Linked DNA regions of Homo sapiens: all the other regions are linked to region 2. Evidence: promoter capture Hi-C in 16 types of primary human blood cells and fetal thymus (Javierre and others, 2016). All regions are on one chromosome and are shown on one strand. Each heading gives the region's core, a stretch centred on a gene start or on the middle of the fragment in contact. The rest is flanking DNA. Distances are from core to core; before and after follow the strand shown. Region 1 has its middle 10 kb from the start of GINM1. Region 2 holds the start of UST-AS2 (UST antisense RNA 2). Region 3 overlaps KATNA1 (katanin catalytic subunit A1). Region 4 overlaps GINM1 (glycosylated integral membrane protein 1).

What was found. Contacts are between HindIII fragments. The CHiCAGO score rates a contact against its expected background, and 5 or more counts as called.
Region 1: a fragment that was not itself captured here is called in contact with the fragment with the promoter of UST-AS2 in region 2 in 5 of 17 cell types (activated CD4 T cells, non-activated CD4 T cells, naive CD4 T cells and 2 more); the score reaches 6.9 in activated CD4 T cells.
Region 3: a contact is called between a fragment that was not itself captured here and the fragment with the promoter of UST-AS2 in region 2, in 6 of 17 cell types (naive CD8 T cells, fetal thymus, naive CD4 T cells and 3 more). The highest score is 7.3, in naive CD8 T cells.
Region 4: a fragment that was not itself captured here is called in contact with the fragment with the promoter of UST-AS2 in region 2 in 3 of 17 cell types (naive CD4 T cells, activated CD4 T cells and total CD4 T cells); the score reaches 7.0 in naive CD4 T cells.

The regions. Positions count from the first base shown.
Region 1 is chr6:149,553,902-149,558,545 of GRCh38, reverse strand. No RefSeq gene overlaps it. Among named protein-coding and RNA genes, the nearest start is that of GINM1, 10 kb to the left of the region's middle. The HindIII fragment of the contact is 7,087 bases long and covers 1-4,644 here.
Region 2 is chr6:149,029,594-149,034,549 of GRCh38, reverse strand. It overlaps UST-AS2 (UST antisense RNA 2), which reads left to right and starts at 1,889. Exons shown (of 2, transcript NR_134599.1): 1 at 1,889-2,025. All of the region lies in intron 7 of UST (uronyl 2-sulfotransferase), which reads right to left. RefSeq lists an enhancer at 1,296-1,485. The HindIII fragment of the contact is 1,599 bases long and covers 1,496-3,094 here.
Region 3 is chr6:149,596,164-149,601,315 of GRCh38, reverse strand. It overlaps KATNA1 (katanin catalytic subunit A1), which reads left to right. Exons shown (of 11, transcript NM_007044.4): 8 at 2,966-3,092; 9 at 3,675-3,809; 10 at 4,127-4,253. Among named protein-coding and RNA genes, the nearest start is that of GINM1, 32 kb to the right of the region's middle. The HindIII fragment of the contact is 2,918 bases long and covers 276-3,193 here.
Region 4 is chr6:149,574,900-149,579,536 of GRCh38, reverse strand. GINM1 (glycosylated integral membrane protein 1) reads right to left here. Exons shown (of 8, transcript NM_138785.5): 4 at 564-715. Among named protein-coding and RNA genes, the nearest start is that of GINM1, 11 kb to the right of the region's middle. The HindIII fragment of the contact is 2,347 bases long and covers 228-2,574 here.

The sequences.
Region 1 (4,644 bases), core at 1,277-3,776, 520 kb before region 2:
CTCTTGTCTGATTCCTTTGGTATGACTTCTAGTACTATGTTGAACAGGAGTGGTAAGTGTGGGCATCCTTGTCTTGATCCACTTCTTAGAGGAAAGGCTTTCAACTTTTTTGAATTCAGTATAATGCTAGCTGTGGATTTGTTATATATGGCCTTTATTACTTTGAGGTATGTTCCTTCTATGCCTAGTTTGTTGAGAGTTTTTCTCAAGAATGGATGTTGAATTTTATTAAATGCTTTTTCTGCATCTATTGAGATGATCATATGGTTTTAGTCCTTCATTCTGTTGATGTGATGTATCACATTTATTGATTTGTGTATGTTGTACCATCTTTGCATCCCAGGTATAAATCACACTTGATCATGGTGTATTAGTTTTTGATATGCTGCTGATTTGATTTGCTAGTATTTTCTTCTATGGATTTTGCATCTATGTTCATCAGGGATATTGGCCTGTAGTTTCCTCTTTTCTTGTCCTTGTTTGGTTTTGATATGAAGGTGACACTGGCCTCATAAAATTAGTTAGGGAGGGCTGGGCATGGTGGCTCACGCCTGTAATCCCAGCACTTTCGGAGACTAAGGTGGGCGGATCACGAGGTCAAGAGTTCGAGTCCAGCCTGGCCAACATGGTGAAACCCCATCTCTACTAAAAATACAAAAATTAGCCGAGCATGGTGTTGCACACCTGTAGTCCCAGCTACTCGGGAGGCTGAGGCAGGAGAATTGCTTGAACCCGGTATGTGGAGGTTGCAGTGAGCCGAGATCATGCCACAGCACTCCAGCCTGACTCTGTCTCAAAAAAAAAAAAAAAAAAAAAAAAGAATTAGGGAGAATTCCCTCCTTTTCAATTTTTTTGGAATCATTTCAGGAGGATTGACATTAGTTCTACTTTGTACATTTGGGCAAATTTGGATGTGAATCCATCTGATCCTAGGCTTTATATTGTTGAGAGATTTTTTATTACTGATTCAATCTTGTTACTCATTATTAGTCTGTTCAGGTTTTCTGTTTCTTTCTGATTCAGTCTTGGTAGATTGTATGTGTCCAAGAATTTATACATTTCCTCTAGGTTTTTGTCAGCATATAGTCATAAAAGTCTCTGATAATTTTTTTGTATTTCTGTGGCATCAATGGTAATATCTCCTTTCTCATCTTTGATTTTGTTTCTTTGAGTATTCTTTTCTTGGTTGGTCTAGATAACAGTTTATCAATTTTGTTTATTTTTTTGAAGAACCAACTTTTTGTTTCATTGGTCCTTTGTAATTTTTTAGTCTCAAATTGATTTAGTTCTGCTCTGATCTTTACTTTTTCTTCTCATAATTTGGGGGTGTGATTTGTTCTTGCTTTTCTAGTTCCTTTAAGTGCATTATTAGGTTGTTTATTTGAAATCATTCTACTTTTTTGTGTTTTTTATTGTCAATTACTTTAAAATTTTTAAAATTTTTAAATTTTAAATTTTAATAGTTTGTGGGGAACAAGTGGTATTTGGTTACATGGATAACTTCTTTAGTGGTGATTTCTGAACTTTTGCTACACCTATAATCTGAGCAGTGTACACTGTACCTAATTATAGTCTTTTATTCCTTACCTCCTTTCAACCTTCCCCCTGAGTCCCCAAAGTCCATTGGATCATTCTTATGCCTTTGCATTTGCATCCTCATAGCATAGCTCCCACTTATAAGTGAGAACATACAATGTTTAGTTTTCCATTCCTGAGTTACTTCACTTAGAATGATGGTCTGCAACTCCTTCCAGGTTGCTGCAAATGCTATTATTTTGTTTCTTTTTATGGCTGAGTAGTATTCCATGGTGTATATATATATCACACTTTCTTTTCTTTCTTTCCCTTTTTTTTGAGTCGGAGTCTCTCTCTGTCACCCAGGCTGGAGTGCAGTGGCATGATCTTGGCTCACTGCAACCTCTGCCTCTCAGGTTCGAGCAATTCTCCTGCCTCAGCCTCCCAAGTAGCTGGGATTACAGGTGTGTGCCACCACGCCCAGCTAATTATTATTATTATTTTTTTTTGAGGTGGAGTCTCACTCTGTCGCCCAGGCTGGAATGCAGTGACGCGATCTCGGCTCACTGCAACCTCCATCTCCCGGGTTCACGCCATTCTCCTGCCTCAGCCTCCCGAGTAGCTGGGACTACAGGTGCCCACCACCACGCCTGGCTAATTTTTTGTATTTTCAGTAGAGACAGCGTTTCACCATGTTAGCCAGGATGGTCTCGATCTCCTGACCTCGTGATCCACCCGCCTTGGCCTCCCAAAGTGCTGGGATTACAAGCATGAGCCACCGCACCCAGCCTAATTTTTGTATTTTTAATAGAGATGCAGTTTTGCCATGTTGGTCAGGCTGGTCTCCAACTCCTGACCTCAGATGATCTGCCCGCCTCAGCCTCCCAAAGTGCTGGGATTACAGGCGTGAACCACTGCGCCTGGCCACTGCCACATTTTCTTTATCCACTCGTTGACTGATGGACATTTGGGCGGGTTCCATATTTTTACAATTGTGAATTGTGCTGCTACAAACATGTCTGTGCAAGTGTCTTTTTCATGTAATGACTTCTTTTTGTCTGAGTGGAAATCCAAAAGTGGGACTGCTGCATCAAAATGGTAGATCTACTTTTAGTTCTTTAAGGAATCTCCATAATGTTTTCCATAGTGGTTGTGCGAGTTTACATTCCCACCAGTAGTGTAGATGTGTTCCCTTTGCACCATATCCATGCCAGTATCTATTTTTTTTTTTTAATTATGGCCATTCTTACAGGGGTAAAGTGGTATCGCATTGTGGTTTTGATTTGCATTTCCCTGATAATTAGTGATGTTGAGCATTTTTTCATGTTTGTTGACCATTCGTATATCTTCTTTTGAGAATTGTCTATTCATGTCCTTAGCCTAATTTTCGATGAGACTATTTTGTTTTCTTGCTGATTTGTTTGAGTTCCTTGCAGATTCTGGATATCAGTCCTTTGTTGGATGCACAGTTTGTGAAAATTTTTGTCCACTCTGTGGGTTGTCTGTTTACTCTGCTGATTATTTCTTTTGCTGTGCAGAAACTTTTTAGTTTAATTAAGTCCCATCTATTTATCTTTTTTGTTGTTGCATTTGCTTTTGGGTTCTTGATCATGAAGTCTTTGCCTAAGCCAATGTCTAGAAGAGTTTTTCCGATGTTATCTTTTAAAATTTTGATGGTTTCAGGTCTTAGATTGAAGTCTTTGATCCATCTTCAGTTGATTTTTAGATAAGGTAAGACATGAGGATTCAGTTTCACTCTTCTACATGTGGCTTGCCAATTATCCCAGCACTGTTTGTATGGTATTCTTTCCCCACTTTATGTTTTTGTTTGCTTTGTTTAAGATCAGTTGGCTGTTAGCTTTATTTCTGGGTTCTCTATTCTGTTCCATTTATCTATTTGCCTATTTTTATACCAGTACCATGCTGTTTTGGTGACTACAGCCTTATAGTAGAGTTTGAAGTCAGGTAAAGAACAAAAAAGGCCGGGTACAGCCTCACACATGTGATCCCAGCACTTTGGAAGGCCGAGGCAGGCAGATCACCGTAGGTCGGGAGTTCAAGACCAGCCTGACTAACACGGAGAAACTGCATCTCTACTGAAAGTCCAAAAAATTAGTCAGGACTAGTGGCGCATGCCTATAATCTCAGCTACTCAGGAGGCTGAGGCAGAATTGCTTGAACCCAGGAGGCGGAGATTGCGGTGAGCCGAGATCGCGCCATTGCACTCCAGCCTTGGCAACAAGAGTAACTCCGTCTAAAAAAAAAAAAAAGAAAATTATTCTTTTTGCTTAGTCTTGCTTTGGCTATATGGGCTCTTTTTTGGTTCTATATGAATTTTAGGATTGTTTTTTCTAGTTCTGTGAAGACGATGATGGTATTTTGATGAGAATTGCATTGAATTTGTAGATTGCTTTTGGCAGTATAGTCATTTTCACAATACTGATTCTACCCATTCATGAGCATGGGATGTGTTTCCATTTGTTTGTGTCATCTGTGATTTCTTTCAGCAGTGTTTAGTAGTTTTCCTTGTAGAGGTCTTTCACCTCCTTGGTTAGGTATATTCCTAAGTATTTTATTATTTTTTTGCAAGCTATTGTAGAGGTGATTGAATTCTTGGTTTGATTCTCAGCTTGATTGCTGTTGGTGTATAACAGTGTTACTGATTTGTGTACATTGATTTTGTATCCTGAAATTTTACTGAATTCGTGTATCAGATGTCGTAACTTTTTGGATGAGTCTTTAGGGTTTCTAGGTATACGATCACATCATCAGCAAACAGCAACAATTTGACTTCTTCCTTACTGATTTGGATTCCCTTTATTCCTCTTGTCTGATTGCTCTGGCTAGGACTTCTAATACTATGTTGAATAGAAGTGGTGAAAGTGATCATCCTTGTCTTATTCCAGTTCTTAGGGGGAATGCTTTAAACTTTTCCCTGTTCAGTATAATGTTGGCTATGGGTTTATCATAGATGGTTGGTTATTTTTGAGAGAGTTTATCATAGATTTGTTTTGTTTCGTTTCGTTTTGTTTTTTTGAGATGGAGTCTCACTCTGCTGCCCAGACTGGAGCACAGTGGCACGATGTGGGTTCACTGCAACCTCCGCCTCCTGGGTTCAAGCAATTCTCC
Region 2 (4,956 bases), core at 640-3,139:
AGGAGAGGGCCTCTGGGGGAAGGGAGGGCAGGCTGGGATAGAGCTTAAAGAGCTCTGGGTGGAAAGAGGAGAGGGCCTCTGGGGGAAGGGAGGGCAGGCTGCGATGGAGCTTAAAGAGCTCTGGGTGGAAAGAGGAGAGGGCCTCTGCGGGAAGGGAGGGCAGGTTGGGATGGAACTGACATACTTATCTGGTAATTAATATTTAAATAATACCAAAAGTAATACTGAATGCGGCAGATCTAATGGCACATACGAAAATTTTGGCACATACGAAATTTTTGATAGGTACAAATAAATCTAGGCAAATAAATGAAGGCAATAAATAATTCCAGGAAAAACAATTAAGTTGTGCAAGAAATGAAACAAAATCATGATGTACTACTCTGATCAGCAGCCAACAAAATGTATATAGTCACAGCAACGTCAGCAGGACCATGCATCTCAAATGTGGGTATGACCATCTTAGGAAGATGGAGAGGAGCAAGGAAGTAGAAGTAAAGGTAATGGAATAAGAGAATGAGATCATGACCCCAGTAAATCAAGAAACAGCAGCCTGTGCATACTAGTTACAGATAGCGCGGTGATTATCCGAAGAAACATCTAGCTGCGCTGAAAGTGATTGGCTCTGCAACATCAGACTTCATCTTTGGGAGGGTTGGAATAGGAAACTGCTGGTTTTCATTATACATCTTATAGGACTATTTGATTTTTAATTATATACATGCATTACTTAATAGATATAGCAAAAAATGCAGGGAGGTAAAATCCTAGGAACACATGTTTTGAAAAACAGTTCTGGTAGAGTCTGGTTGACAATGCAGCAGAAGCATCTAGAAGCGTATGCTATGGTAAAGACGAGGGGCGGGGTGAGACCTTCAAGTCAAGTGAAACTACCCCACCTGACAAACAACCCTCTCTTCTTCTCATCAGTGTGGGATTATGTTGGATTTTTCTATGCGTTTGTAGGTAATGAAATGAACGTGCTTACTAGAACCCACAAGAAACCACACATAAAAATCCCCAGCAATGTTATATACACAGGTATATTTCTAGCTTTTTGCTGTATTCTTTCACAATTCTGTGCCATTTGCAAGATGTGAAAAGCTAGGACATTATGTATTGATAAAAATGTCTGAGACATGAAAAATATACAGACCAAGAAATATTTTTATTTGAAAAAGATTTAGCCAGACAAAAATAGAAGCTTCCATTATAAAATGTTGAGTCATGCAAAATGGGTAAGGATTGTACTTCGCCCCGGCAGGGGGTACATTTTATAAGCAAAGAATGTCAGAGAGCTAAGGCCACGAGCCAAGGGCCCAAAGACAGTTTTGAAATCCTTTGTCTAGTGCTCTTTCCACATCACCACATTAATTCCTGGGGTGGACAGGGACCTTGACAATTTAAGCATAAAAGAACAAACTGACCACAAGGTCGTTTTTATAAAGATCAACCATCAACCCCTGGGGTCAAGTTTCCAATCTTTGCTCAAGCTTTAGAAGCCTTTCAGCTTTGTGGCGTTATCAGGAAAGTCCAAAAATTGAAATTTGTGGTGACTAATTCCACCCCCTACAAATACTCAATGCAGAGCATATTACTGTCAGCTCAGCTAAAAACTGCTCAAAGTAGAAGTGATTAAATTCTAAAGTAGAAAAAAATTCACCTCCAAACACAGAAACACACTGGTACCTCCCCCGCACACCCAGATATTATTAGCCAGCTTTTTGCCTGGGGAAATGAATCATGAGACAGAAAACTGTACAACCCCCAAGTCTGACCACACTGAGTAACTGGGGTAGACACAGAGGGGGGCATCTGGGGCTCTCCCGAGGCCAAGGTTGGGACCCAGAAGAGATGAATTTCCCTGGGTGCACAGGGTGGGAGGGAGGTGGGGCTGGAAGAACTTGATCTGGAGGGATGATCCCGAAGGCTCCCAGTGAAGAAGGCCAGGAAGAGCAGAGGATGGTGCCAGGAGGATGATGTCGGGGGACACAGGCAGCTCATGCCTGGATCAGGCAGTGACTGGTAACAGAAGGAGAGTCCATGCTGGTGGGCCCAGGGGAACATAGGTGGTCAAGCAGGGCAGTACTTGGTGTCTGGGGATGCAGTGTGCGACCTCCTGTATTCGGTGCGAGGCACATGGGGCCAGCAGGAGCTGGTGTGAGCCCGGGTCTGAAGGGTGGTGGGATCTTAGTGGGGAAGACTGGGAAGACAGCAGGGAGGAAGAACTCAGGCTGGAGGAGGATGGGGGCCTGGGAGGATCCCTGCCACACTGTTAGGAAGCCAGGGAGCTTGGGTGGTGGTAGGATGGGAAGAGGGCAGGGAAACGGGGGGAGGGTGACACAGGCCCTCCGGCAGCAGCGGCTTGGCCACTGGCGCTGAGATTGGTATGAGTGACTCAGTGCCAGGTTGCGCCACAGAAAGCTGAGGCTGCGGATCCTTCTCCTGCCTCTGGTAGGGCCGTCTTAAAGGCAGGGTGAGTGAGCCTGGCTCCAAGAGGCTGGGTCCGCAGGCAGGGGCTGACGTGGGCTGGCCCAAGCCCCAGCTCTCCTCACTCTGAGTGCTTCTATGCTTTCTCACCTCCACGCTTCCAATCATGTTATTTTCCTCTTATTAAAATGCCTCCTTCCACGTCCACTTGGCAAACTCCTACGCACCCTTTAAGGCCGGGCACAAATGTCTCCACAGGGTTATGCGCCCCAGCCCTGTTAGTGACGGCCTTCCAGCTAGACAAGATTTTCATCTTTATACTGCCCTTCCCCAGGAAAGGGACATCACAGACACTCAGCTATTTATTTGCTGGAGGTGTTTGTTGAATTTTTCTGGTAGTTTCAGATTACACCTATTTAAATATTAGTTTTCAGAGAAGAGAAATATTTTTGTAAAGTTATTCCTAGAACATCAATGTCTGTGAAGGAAGTTCTATTTTCCTGTTAATCTTTCATAATAAAATTGGAAATGCTTTCTCCTGGAGGAGAGATGATCCCAACGCAAGAACAAATCAGTAAGCAAGAGTAAAACATGTTTTCCAATAAAACAAAGAGTAATAGTTGAAATAGGCCAAACGCACATATATTATGCTGCAATTTAAGCTTTCATAAAGTAAATTAAACAAGCCTAGAGGCTGAATTCTTGTGAATTGGTGATGTTTCTGTAAACTGAATGATGTTATCAGCCTGTGGTTATACAGTTCCCCTCAGAAAAATGTTCACTAAAAAAAATCACAAGTGTTTAGAAGTTAAAGGGGTTTACATTATGTGTTCATTTTTAATGAACTATTTGCCCAGTAGCTACAGCTGAACCAGTTATATGCCTTCAGCTTAGACTTTTTTTTTTTTTTTTTTGAGATGAGTCTTGCTCTGTGGCCCAGGCTAGAGTGCAATGGCTCGATCTCAGCTCACTGCAACCTCCACCTTCCGGGTTCAGGCAATTCTCCTGCCTCAGCCTCCTGAGTAGCTGGGATTACAGGCATGTGTTGCCATGCCTGGCTAATTTTTGTATTTTTAGTAGAGATGGGGTTTCACCATGTTGGCCAGGCTGGTCTCGAACTCCTGACCTTGTGATCCACCTGCCTTGGCTTAACAAAATGTTGAGATTACAGGCATGAGCCAGCATGCCCAGCCCAGCTTAGATTTTTAGACACTATCTTAAAGACCTTGCACTGCTATTCCCTACGTCCCCGCAACCCCCACTGGAAAGACGTCAGGTGTTGTCAAACAGATCTATTCTCAAAATTATTTTTTTCTGTGTGTATTGCCTCGTACTGGCTTAAGATAACACACTGGCTTAAGATAACACATCTTGTGTGTGTGTTAAGGTAACACACACACAAGATCCAGTGCTGACATTATTAGGATCTGAGCCTGGGACATGGCTGCTGAAAAAAAAAATCTTTATAGAGAATATCGATGGTAAATGAACCAATAGCAAATTGAAGTCCTGTTTTCATCAATGATAATTGAGTTTTTAAAAACAATCATCTATGATGATTCCTAAACTCATGTTTCTTAGTGAACAGACAGATACGTTGGACAGAGATAAACTATATATTTAATTTTAATTTTTTTTTTTTGGTAGAAACAGGATCTTGCTGTTGCTCAGGCTGGTCTTGAATTCCTAGGCTCAAGTGATCCTCCTGCCTTGGCCTCCCAAGGTGCTGGGGTTACAGGTATAAGCCACAGTGCCCAGCCTAGATTTTATTTTTAAGCTCTTGCCTTTAATGGCAATACATACTATGAATGCTTAGTACTCACTAACTTCTGAATTAATGATTAAATATAAAGAAGAGTTTTAGAGGAATCACAGATTTATGTTTTGTGATGGGCCTGGGGACAGAAGCGTGAATGTCAGTGCTGTCCCTTAGGACTTGGCGAGACTGTGAGCAAGTTGTTCAGCCTCTTTGAGCCTTGGTTTCCTTGTTTAGAAAATGAGAAAAAAAAATTGTCTTCCTCAACTTCAGGGGATTTGTGTAAGAATCAAATGAGATCATCTATATGAAAGTGTTTTATAACTGCATATTGTTATACAAGTAATTATGACTTAGAAACTTACTGATTTTGTGATCTTAAGATGATTGCATCATGTATGAGTGCTATATAATAAGGAGTCTAGTTGTTTGAACATGGGTAGGTGCACACACCACACACACACACACACACACACACACACACACACACACACACAAGATCCAGTGCTGACATTATTAGGATCTGAGCCTGGGACATGGCTGGTGAAAAAAAAATCTTTATAGAGAATATCGATGGTAAATGAACCAATAGCAAATTGGAGTCCTGTTTTCATCAATGAAAACTGAGTTTTTAAAAACAACTTAATTGCCTTCTAAAAATAGCTAATCTGAATTCCTCCTAACCATCATTGTATACTTGGGAGTTTCCAGAATATTTTTGAGTTTTGCTGCAGCACAGAAGCAATAGAAGTGGAAAATAAAAATGGAAA
Region 3 (5,152 bases), core at 485-2,984, 570 kb before region 2:
TTTTTAAATCAATAGGTTTAGTTATAATATGATAACCACAGTATTGTAACAATGATGCCAAAAGGTGAGAATCATAATTTATTGTGGAACTTAGGTCACCTCCGATCTATTAACTGCACCAAATGCCTTCATTTTAATGACCTAATCTTTGGATTAGGTTCTTTCTTCCACCAATACAAATCAGAGTACCAATAGAAGAAATGTAATTCAACAAGTTCTGGTAGAGTGTTTAGATTGAATTCCACAGCCTTTTAAACTTCAGACTTTGTTAAGCTTCACTGATTACGTCACTCTTGCCTCTAAGAAACAGAGTAGTTTTATGTAATTAGGATAGAGTTATGCTATTAGTGACAAAGACGTGAATCTTCTTTTTTTTGAAATGGGTTCTCAGTCTTGCCTAGGCTGGTATGCAGGAGCATGATCACAACTCGCTGCATCCGTGACCTCCCAGGCCCAAGTGCTCTTCCCATCTAAGCCTCCCAAGCAGCTGGGATGATGGACATGAGCCACCACACTCAGCTCATTTTTTTTTTTTTTTTTTTTTTACAGATGGGGTCTTGCTGTGTTGCCCAGGCTGATCTTGAACTCCTGGGTTCAAGTGATCCTCTTGCTTCAGACTCCCAAAGTGCTAGATTTATAGGCATGGGTCACCAATCCTGGTCAAGACATGAATTCTATTTTTTTTGACAGGGTCTCATTCTGTCACCTAGGCTGGAGTGCAGTGTTGCAATCTCGGCTCACAGCAGCCTTCACCTCCTAGCCTCAAGCGATCCTCCCACCTTAGCCTCCTGAGTAGCTGGGACTACACAAGTGCACTACCATGCCTGGCTAATTTTTGTATTTTTAGTAGAGATGAGGTTTTGCCATGTTGACCAGGCTGGTCTTGAACTCCTGACCTCAGGTGATCTGCCCACCTTGGCCTCCCAAAGTGTTAGGATTATAGGTATGAGCCACTGCGCCTGGCCTTTTTTGATTTTTTTGTAGAGATGAAGTCTCACTACGTTGCCCAGGCAGTCTAGAACTCCTGGCCTAACACTCCTCTTGCCTAGACCCCATAAAGTGCCGGGATTACAGGCAAGAGCCATTGTGTTCAGCTTTTTTTTTTTTTTTTTTTTTTTTTTAAGATAAGCTCTCACTATATTGCACAGGTTGTAGTGCAGTGGTTATTCACAGGCACAATCATAGCATACTGCATCCTCCTCTCTCAGCATCCCAAGTAGCTGGGACTTCAGTCGTGTACCACTGCACTCAGCTTTCAAGCCTTATTTTTATTGTCCTTAGGGTAATGAACTCTCAGCAAAGTTAGCCCTCATTTTGTCATAGTTCCAGCAAAAGTCCAAAGATTAATATTTGGCCTGTTTTGAGTTTCATACCTATGCCGAAACTCCTTGTTTTTGGTCAGAGAATTGGAGTGCTCTGATTGGCCAGGTCTGAATAAAACCCCTGGAGTTCCAAGTAAAGTTAGCCTCTTTTGAAGTAGTGGAATAGGAATGAGAGGGGCCCGGCATGGTGGCTCATGCCTGTAATCCCCGCACTTTGGGAGGTTGAGGCGGGCAGATCACTTGAGGTCAGGAGTTCGAGACCAGCCTGGCCAACATGATGAAACCCCGTCTCTACTAAAAATACAAAAATTAGCCAGGTGTGGTGGCGTGCACCTGTAATCCCAGCTACTTGGGAGGCTGAGGCAGGAGAATTGCTTGAACCGGGGTGGCAGAGGTTACAGAGAGAGGGAGAGGGGAGAGGGGAGAGGGGAGGAAAGAAAGAAAGGGATGATTTGCAAATGAAAAAGAGGCTTCTCTTACCAGAAGTGTGCTGTGCAGGGAGAACCAATTGGTGTCCTCTACCGTACCTTCCTGGGCCAGCTAAACCCAGGACACATAGCCTTTCCTTGAAGTCAGATCATTCTACATAACCTCAGTATGTGGGAAGAATCAGTCTAGTCACTTTTGCTTGGTGTGGCAACAGACTGAAGTTTAATTTTTGTTGATGTAGGTGCTTTTGATAGATGCTTCCTAAAATTTTAGTTGAGAATTTTCTTGGATGTTTTAATGATGATGAAGTTCACTCTTTCCCTCTCTCCATTTGTTGAAAAAGTACAAAAATATTTATACATAAAGACCCAAGTATTGACTCTCTTTAAAGATGAAATTATCCCACTAGGTACAGTGGCTCATTGTAATCCTAGCATTTTGGGAGGCCGAGGCAGGAAGATTGCTTGAGTCTAGGAGTTTGAGACCAGCCTAGGCAACATAATAAGACACCATCTCTACCAAAAATATAAAAATAAGCCTGGTGTGGTGGCACACACCTGTAGTCCTAGCTACTCGGGAGGTTGAGGTGAGAGGATTGCTTGAGCCCAGGAGCTCAAGGTTGAAGTGAGCCAAAATCATATCACTGCACTCCAGCCTGGATGACAGAGCAAGACCTTGCCTCTTAAAAAAAAATAAATAAATAAAAAACGGTTCATTAGAAGCCATATTTTAGCTGTTCTAATTCTATCCCATCTCCCCAGTATTAGCGTGAGAGAAAGATGCACAGTGTGGCAGGCTCCTTAGCTGTTTTGTTGTTTTCTTTCTTTCCTCTTGTTTTAGAGACAGGTTCTCACTCTGTCACCCAGTCTGGAATACAGTGGTGTGGTGTGATCATAGCTCACTGCAGCCTTGAACTCCTGGGCTCAAGGGATCCTCTCACCTAGCCTCCTGAGTAGCTGGGACTCAGACACGTGTAACCACACTCAACTAATATTTTAATTTTCTGTAGAGATGGAGTCTTGCTATGTTGCCCAGGCTGGTCTCGAACTCTTGGGCTCAATCCATCCTCCTGCCTCACCCTCCCAGTGTTGGGATTACAGGTGTGAGCCACTGTGCCCAGCCTCCCTCAGCTATTTTCTGATTGCTAATCTGTAGATTATTTTAAAATGAAATAATAGCTTAATAGCTTGATATTGCATGGTTTCTTCCTTTAGGCTCGATTTTATTCTCCAGCCACCATATTTATTGATGAGATAGACTCCATCTGTAGTCGCCGAGGGACTTCTGAAGAACATGAAGCAAGCAGAAGGGTGAAAGCGGAGCTGCTGGTTCAGATGGATGGTATCTGTGTTTAGCTTGAGTTGAACAGGGACGGGAGGTTGTTAGGTGTGGTGTCTCCAGTTCCAGTGGGTCAAACTTTACTCATAGTGCTAACCCAAGCTTTTAATAGGTATTCTTAACTTCAGATGGACTAGAGGGGGTGGCAAGAAGTTCCTGATAGTGATAGTAATAGATTTGGTACACTGACAGTGGTGACAAGTCAGAATTAATGGCCACACACAGGGCACCCTTTTGGTATATACAACTATCTTACTTTAGCTATGAAATTGAAATAAAAATAAATGCAGATAAATTGGCCTTAGAGTTTATGTACGCTTTGAAAAAGATTTAAAATTGTTATGTATTTGAGATCTGGCTTTTCGATTAAATCTATTTTGAGTCATATATTTGCATACTACAGAACTCATTTTCTTTGGATTACAAATTCACATAGGTACCAGTTAACCTAAGTCTTAAGGAGGCATTAAGACTGTGCTTCCTTGTATTGTTGTACTAAATAGTTGTTGATCTTTAAATAGCTGAGCTTCATTTGGTATAATCCAACTTAATATCTTTTTCACTCTCCCCTTACCCTTATTTTAGGTGTTGGAGGTACTTCTGAAAATGATGACCCTTCCAAAATGGTTATGGTTCTGGCAGCTACTAATTTTCCCTGGGATATAGATGAGGCTTTAAGACGACGCCTTGAGAAACGAATCTATATTCCTTTGCCGTCAGGTATCTTCCTTTCAATCTTGTCAGAAAGCCTGTTAACTTTCATGTAGTTTTGTTTAGAGAATTTAAAATTTGTTATTAACTAACTTTCTGGAAGAGATACATGAGGAGTATCTTCCTTTACAGTACTAGTTTGGCTATATGCCTTAATACTAAATAGTAAGGAATTAAAAAGTAAAGAATGGCTCTTTACTTAATTATCTCTTCTTAGAGATCCAATTCTTACTGGAAGACAACATCTCACACAAAGAAGATTTGAGACAATAGTATACTATGTTTATGCTGCAGGCTTACATTTTAAAATTTGTTTCTACCATTAGCAAAAGGCAGGGAGGAGCTATTACGAATAAGTCTACGTGAGTTGGAATTGGCTGATGATGTTGACCTTGCAAGTATAGCAGAAAACATGGAAGGTTATTCAGGTGCGGACATTACCAACGTGTGCAGGTATGAATTATCATGGAAGCATAGGTTTTTGTAAGCATAAACTTCTAGTATGAAGTTTTTTGGTTTTGTTTTTTGAGACACAGTCTCGCTCTGTTGCCTAGACTGGAGAGTAGAGGCGCAGTCACAGCTTACTGCAGCCTGAAACTCCTGGGCTCAAGTGATCCTCTGACGTGAAGTTTTTATGCTGAATTAAGACAGATCAATATCTTGGTGGTGGCTCACGCCTGTAATCTCAGCACTTTGGGAGGCCAAGTGGGAGATCACTTGAGCCCAGGAGTTTGACTGGCCTGGGTAACATTGCAAGACCTCATATCCATGAAAAAAATTTTAAAAATTAGCCGGGCATGGTGGTTCCCACCTGCTCAGGAAGCTGAGGCAGGAGGATCGCTTGAGCCCAGGAGTTTGAGGCTGCAGTGAGCCATGATTGTGCCACTGCACCCCAGCCTGGGCGACAAAGCAAGACCCTGTGTCCAAAGAAAAAAAAAAAAGATGAATAAAGACCCACATTCCAGTTTTGTTTTGTTTTTTGAGACGGAGTCTCGCTCTGTCACCCAGGCTGAAGTGCAGTGGTCCGATCTCGGCTCACTGCAACCTTTGCCTCCTGGGTTCAAGTGATTCTTGTGCCTCAGCCTCCCGAGTAGCTGGGATTACAGGCATGCACCACCACACCTGGCTAATTTTTGTATTTTTAGTAGAGACGGTGTTTCACCATGTTGACCAGGCTGGTGTCGAACTCCTGACCTCAAGTGATCCGCCTGCCTCAGCCTCCCAAAATGCTAAGATTACAGGCGTGAGCCACCATGCCCGGCCCCACATACATTTTGTAGTCAGGGTCACAAATTCTGGTTTTGTTGGTGTTAGCAGGTGCTGGTAAGATATCTGGTATCTTTCATGTCAGT
Region 4 (4,637 bases), core at 152-2,651, 550 kb before region 2:
ATTTTTAGTAGAGACAAGGAGTTTCTCCATGTTGGTCAGGCTGGTCTAGAACTCCTGACCTCAGGTGATTCGTCCACCTTGGCCTCCCAAAGTGCTGGGATTACAGGTGTGAGCCACCATGCCCAGCTAACAATTACTATTTATTTCCCCGTACTCCCACTTTGGGGCACTTAACTTGCAACTTTAATAATATTCCTGTCCTGCTTTAACACTTACTATTATAAGCTTAATCTCGATTCTACTTCATTTACACACAGAGACTTCATTTACCATAGAGGAAATGGTAGCAGAACTATGAGCCAAATTGAATCTCTTTGCTTACTTTCTATTTAATAATGTCTGTACATTTTAAAGTGATACAAACATGTATGAATATGGGAAATTTTAAAAATACATTTCAAATGCTAAAATAAATATACAAAAATTCTAAATAATTGGATATAGGCAACATTAGGCACCTTCCTTATCAAGTCGGAAACAAATAAAATAACTGAACACATGCATAATATCTAGCACAAATCTAAATATCATTTAATTCCCAATTAATAAACATACTATCTTACTTGTTTTCCATCAATCTCTACTACCTCTTCTTGAATGACAATTAGTTGCAAACTGGAACCAGATGTCATAGGCCACTCATGAACTAAAATCCTTACACTGACAATTCCAAAATATTCTTTTTCCTCCAAATTTTCAAGATTTTCATTCTTCACTATAAAAAAAAAAGTAGTGACACCTTTGAACAAAGATTACCACCAAATCTGTGAGTGAGTGTGATTATTTTGATGACATTTACATGGAACAAGACAGTTGAAAACCCATTTCTTTGGCTTTCTTCATCCCTGACCTCAATGCTGTTTCAGATTTATTAAAAACAAAGACAATCTGACAAATCTTTATGACTGCTTACACTCATTTGAAAGGGTAAAATGTGTTGATCTTTAGACTTTGTATGAAATACCACACTAGCAACATCTTTCCTATTCTTTTTTTTTTTTTTTTTTTTTTGAGATGGAGTCTTGCTCTGTCGCCCAGGCTGGAGTGCAGTGGTGCCACCTTGGCTCACTGCAACCTTTGCCTCCTGGGTTCAAGGGATTCTCCTGCCTCAGCCTCCCAAGTAGCTGGGTTTACAGGCTTGCACCACCATGCTCAGCTGTTTTTTTGTATTTTTAGCAGAGATAGGGTTTCACCATATTGGCCGGGCTGGTCTTGCTAACTCCTGACCTCAAGTGATTCACCCACCTTGGCTGCCCAAAGTGCTGGGATTACAGGCGTGAACGACCACGCCTGGCCCATCTTTCCTATTCTTTTATACAGGTTGGCCATGAGGAACCAACATGGCACAACTATAAAGCCAGCCAGAAGATACAGCCAATCCCACGTTTTAACATAATAAGCACATACATTCATCCATCCACAAAATCCTGTGAGAGAAGATGCCCAAGCAGTAAGAACATTGAGTTTTTTAATCAATCCTTTCCCCGATTAGTGACTCATTACTATTAGAGAGAGCAGGAATGGGGAAAGAGGGTGGGGGAGGCCTGTCATTTCTCTCTGGTAATCGATAATGGGGTAGGACTAGCTATTGTCCACGTTCTTCTCTAGCTAGGAAACCTCTACTCCTGCTCCAGTAGAAACGGGGTGTAGTAGCTGCAGCTGGTTTACAGAGCCAACGGCTACTCTATTAAGGTAGAAGTGCTATCGAAAAAGATAAAACAACATACACCAATGCACCTGTCACAGATGGAGCATTTTATTTCTATCCCTCAAATAATCTGAAGATTTTTGCCAAACAGGAATCCAGATATACAATCTGAATGCACACCCAGCTGTTTAGTCTGATTCTGTGCATCTATAGGGCTACTTCCTTTGTCTGGAATATCTCAATATCTAGTTCATTAACTACTTACTATTACAAGATATACCTACCTATTCTCCCCTGCTTTAGTCCCCGCCGCCAAACCATTCAGACAACATGCCAAGCTCGTCTCACTGTGACGTGGTTTTCAGTCCACAGCCTCCTGCTCACACACCTTTAGTGGCACTTCTGTGAAGTTCCCGGTCCTCTCACTGGTCCTCCTCAGGCTCCTCATCTGGCCCCTCGCTGCTCCTCTCTCTAGTGTGCCTAATCCTTCATGCCCTTTGAAAAGCACCACTGTCAAAGGTACCCCCTCTCTCATGGTCCATCCCCGTGTTTTAACTGACCATTACCACCCGTGGGTCTCCTTCGTGGAACAGCAGGCGCTGTGTCAGCATGTCCGTAAGCCCAAAGACTAAGGTACAGGAGACTCAATGGGTGAGAAAATGCAGTCATAAAAATACACCCAAGTGGCAATTCTTCAGCCTGCAAATTTGGTACCTGATATAGTTTGGATGTTCCCCGCAAATCTCATGTTGAGATGTAATTCCCAATGTTGGAGGCGGGGCCTGGTGGGAGATGTTTGGGCCATGGGGGCAGATCCCTCATGGCTTGGGGTTACGGCACCCCACTGCCACTCTTGCTCTCTCTTGCTCCTGCTCTGCCATGTGAGATACTGGCTCCCCCTTTGCCTTCCACCATGAGTAAAAGCTTCCTGACGCCTCCTTAGAAGCTGAGCAGATGCTGGTGCCATGCTTCCTGTACAGCCTGCAGAACCATGAGCCAATTAAACCTCTTTTCTTTATAAATTACCCAGTCTCAGGTATTTCTTTATAGCAATGTGAGAAGAGCCTCATACAGTACCTCTAATACAGCATAAAATTAAATAAAAAACAACAAAGCCCTTCATATTGACTTCCTTACTGTGGTAGGCGGCTTTCAAAAATGCCCCTCAATGACCCTTGCCTCTAAGGAGTCAGACATTTCTGCAATTCCTCCCTCAAGTGGGCTGGACCTAGTGACTAGTCAGTTAGTTACCTATCTATCTATCGATCTATGAATGATTTTTTTTTCTTTTTTTGTTCTTTTGAAAGAGACAGCCTTGCTATCTTGCCTAGGCTGGTCTTGAACTCCTGGCCTCAAGTGATCCTCCAGCCTTAGCCTCCCAAATAGCTGGGATTACAGGCATGAGCCAATGCACACAGCCTAGTGACTCGTTTCTAACAAACAGAGCATAGCCCAAGTGATGGAATGTTACTGCCACAATTAGATTATTAATGGCTATGACTTCTGTCTTGCTAGTACTCTTTTTCTTACTGGCAGTCTCTCTTGTCCTCTCGATGAAGCTAGTTGCCATGTTGTGAGATGCTCTATGGGGAGCTTCGTGTGACAAGGAACTGAGGAAGACCTTCAACCAACATCTGGTGAGGAACTGAGGCCTCAGTTCAAGAGCTCAGAAGGAACTGACTCCTGCCAACAACCACATGAGTGAGCTGGGAAGCAGATTTTTCCCAGCTGAGCCCTGACGTGATGGCAGCCTTTTGAGAACCACAGGACCCTGCTAAGCCAAGCTCAGATTCTCGACCTACAGAAACTATGAAATAATAAATATTGTCTTAGGCCACTGATTTCTGGGTTAAACTGTTATGCAGCAATAAACAAATACACCAACTAAAGAAAAAGTTTCTTTAAAGAATTAAAGAAGATTTGTTGTTGTTGCTGCATTTAATGTTTTGAAGATTCTTGCTGTAACTGGATAAGATGAGCATTTATTTCAGTTATCATAGAAACAAACTCAGTGCAATGACTGGGATGACTAAAAGATGGCCATAAGAGAGGAGACAGGCTGTATTCCACGTCCAATTCCCAGTGAATACAACAACAAAAGAATTATTATTTCAGTAGTACTAGCACTTCCTTTCTTAGCTACCATGGATCAGCTTGCAGCACACCAACCCTCTTGCAATGAACCACTTGCAAAGAACTGCTAGAAAAGATGTAAAAAATACACACCCACACATACACACAAAACCTACATCTGTGTAGAGGCATCAGAAGCTAAAGACAGCCAGCACTTGAAGGGCCAAGAAAAGAGCTCCCTGAGGTGAGTACAATATCCTATGTGATTTCTTCCCGCAAAGGCATTTGCCAACTCCCAGACAGAACAGGTGGAGAGGTTGAAAAGCTGAGTAGAAAGCAACGACTAGGAGGCAAAAAAGCTCGACAAAGTGTCTGGCAGTCTCACCCAGCAGGGGAGAAAATGAAGTGTTTAAATGTTAAAACAAAAATGCTAAGCTATGCTTCCACAGCCAGCAAAAATAGCCTTCTAAAATGAAGGCAAAGAGATGTTTTCAGACAAATAAAACCTCAGACCATTCACTGCTAACAAACCTGTACTGAAAGAAATACCAAAGGGAATTCTTTAGGCCGAAGGAAAATGACAACCAGGGCACAATGCATGTGTGTGAGGGCAAGGCAGGAGTTGCAGAATGTACAGAGAAATAGGGATAGAAGAAAGAATTTTGGAACTTGAAATTCCAACCAAATGATATAGAGTGGAGCACAGATAGGAAGGAATAAAGAGCAATGAAAAAGGTAACTATGATGGTAAACACACATGAATATTGGACTACATAAAACAATAATTATGTCACATGGGGTTTAAGAACACAAAGAGTTAAAATATATAATAATAACCCAAAGGCAAAAAGGGAATAAATGGAATTTAAGTGTTCTAAGGTTCTTGCATTGTTTGGGAAGTGATAAAAGTACAAAT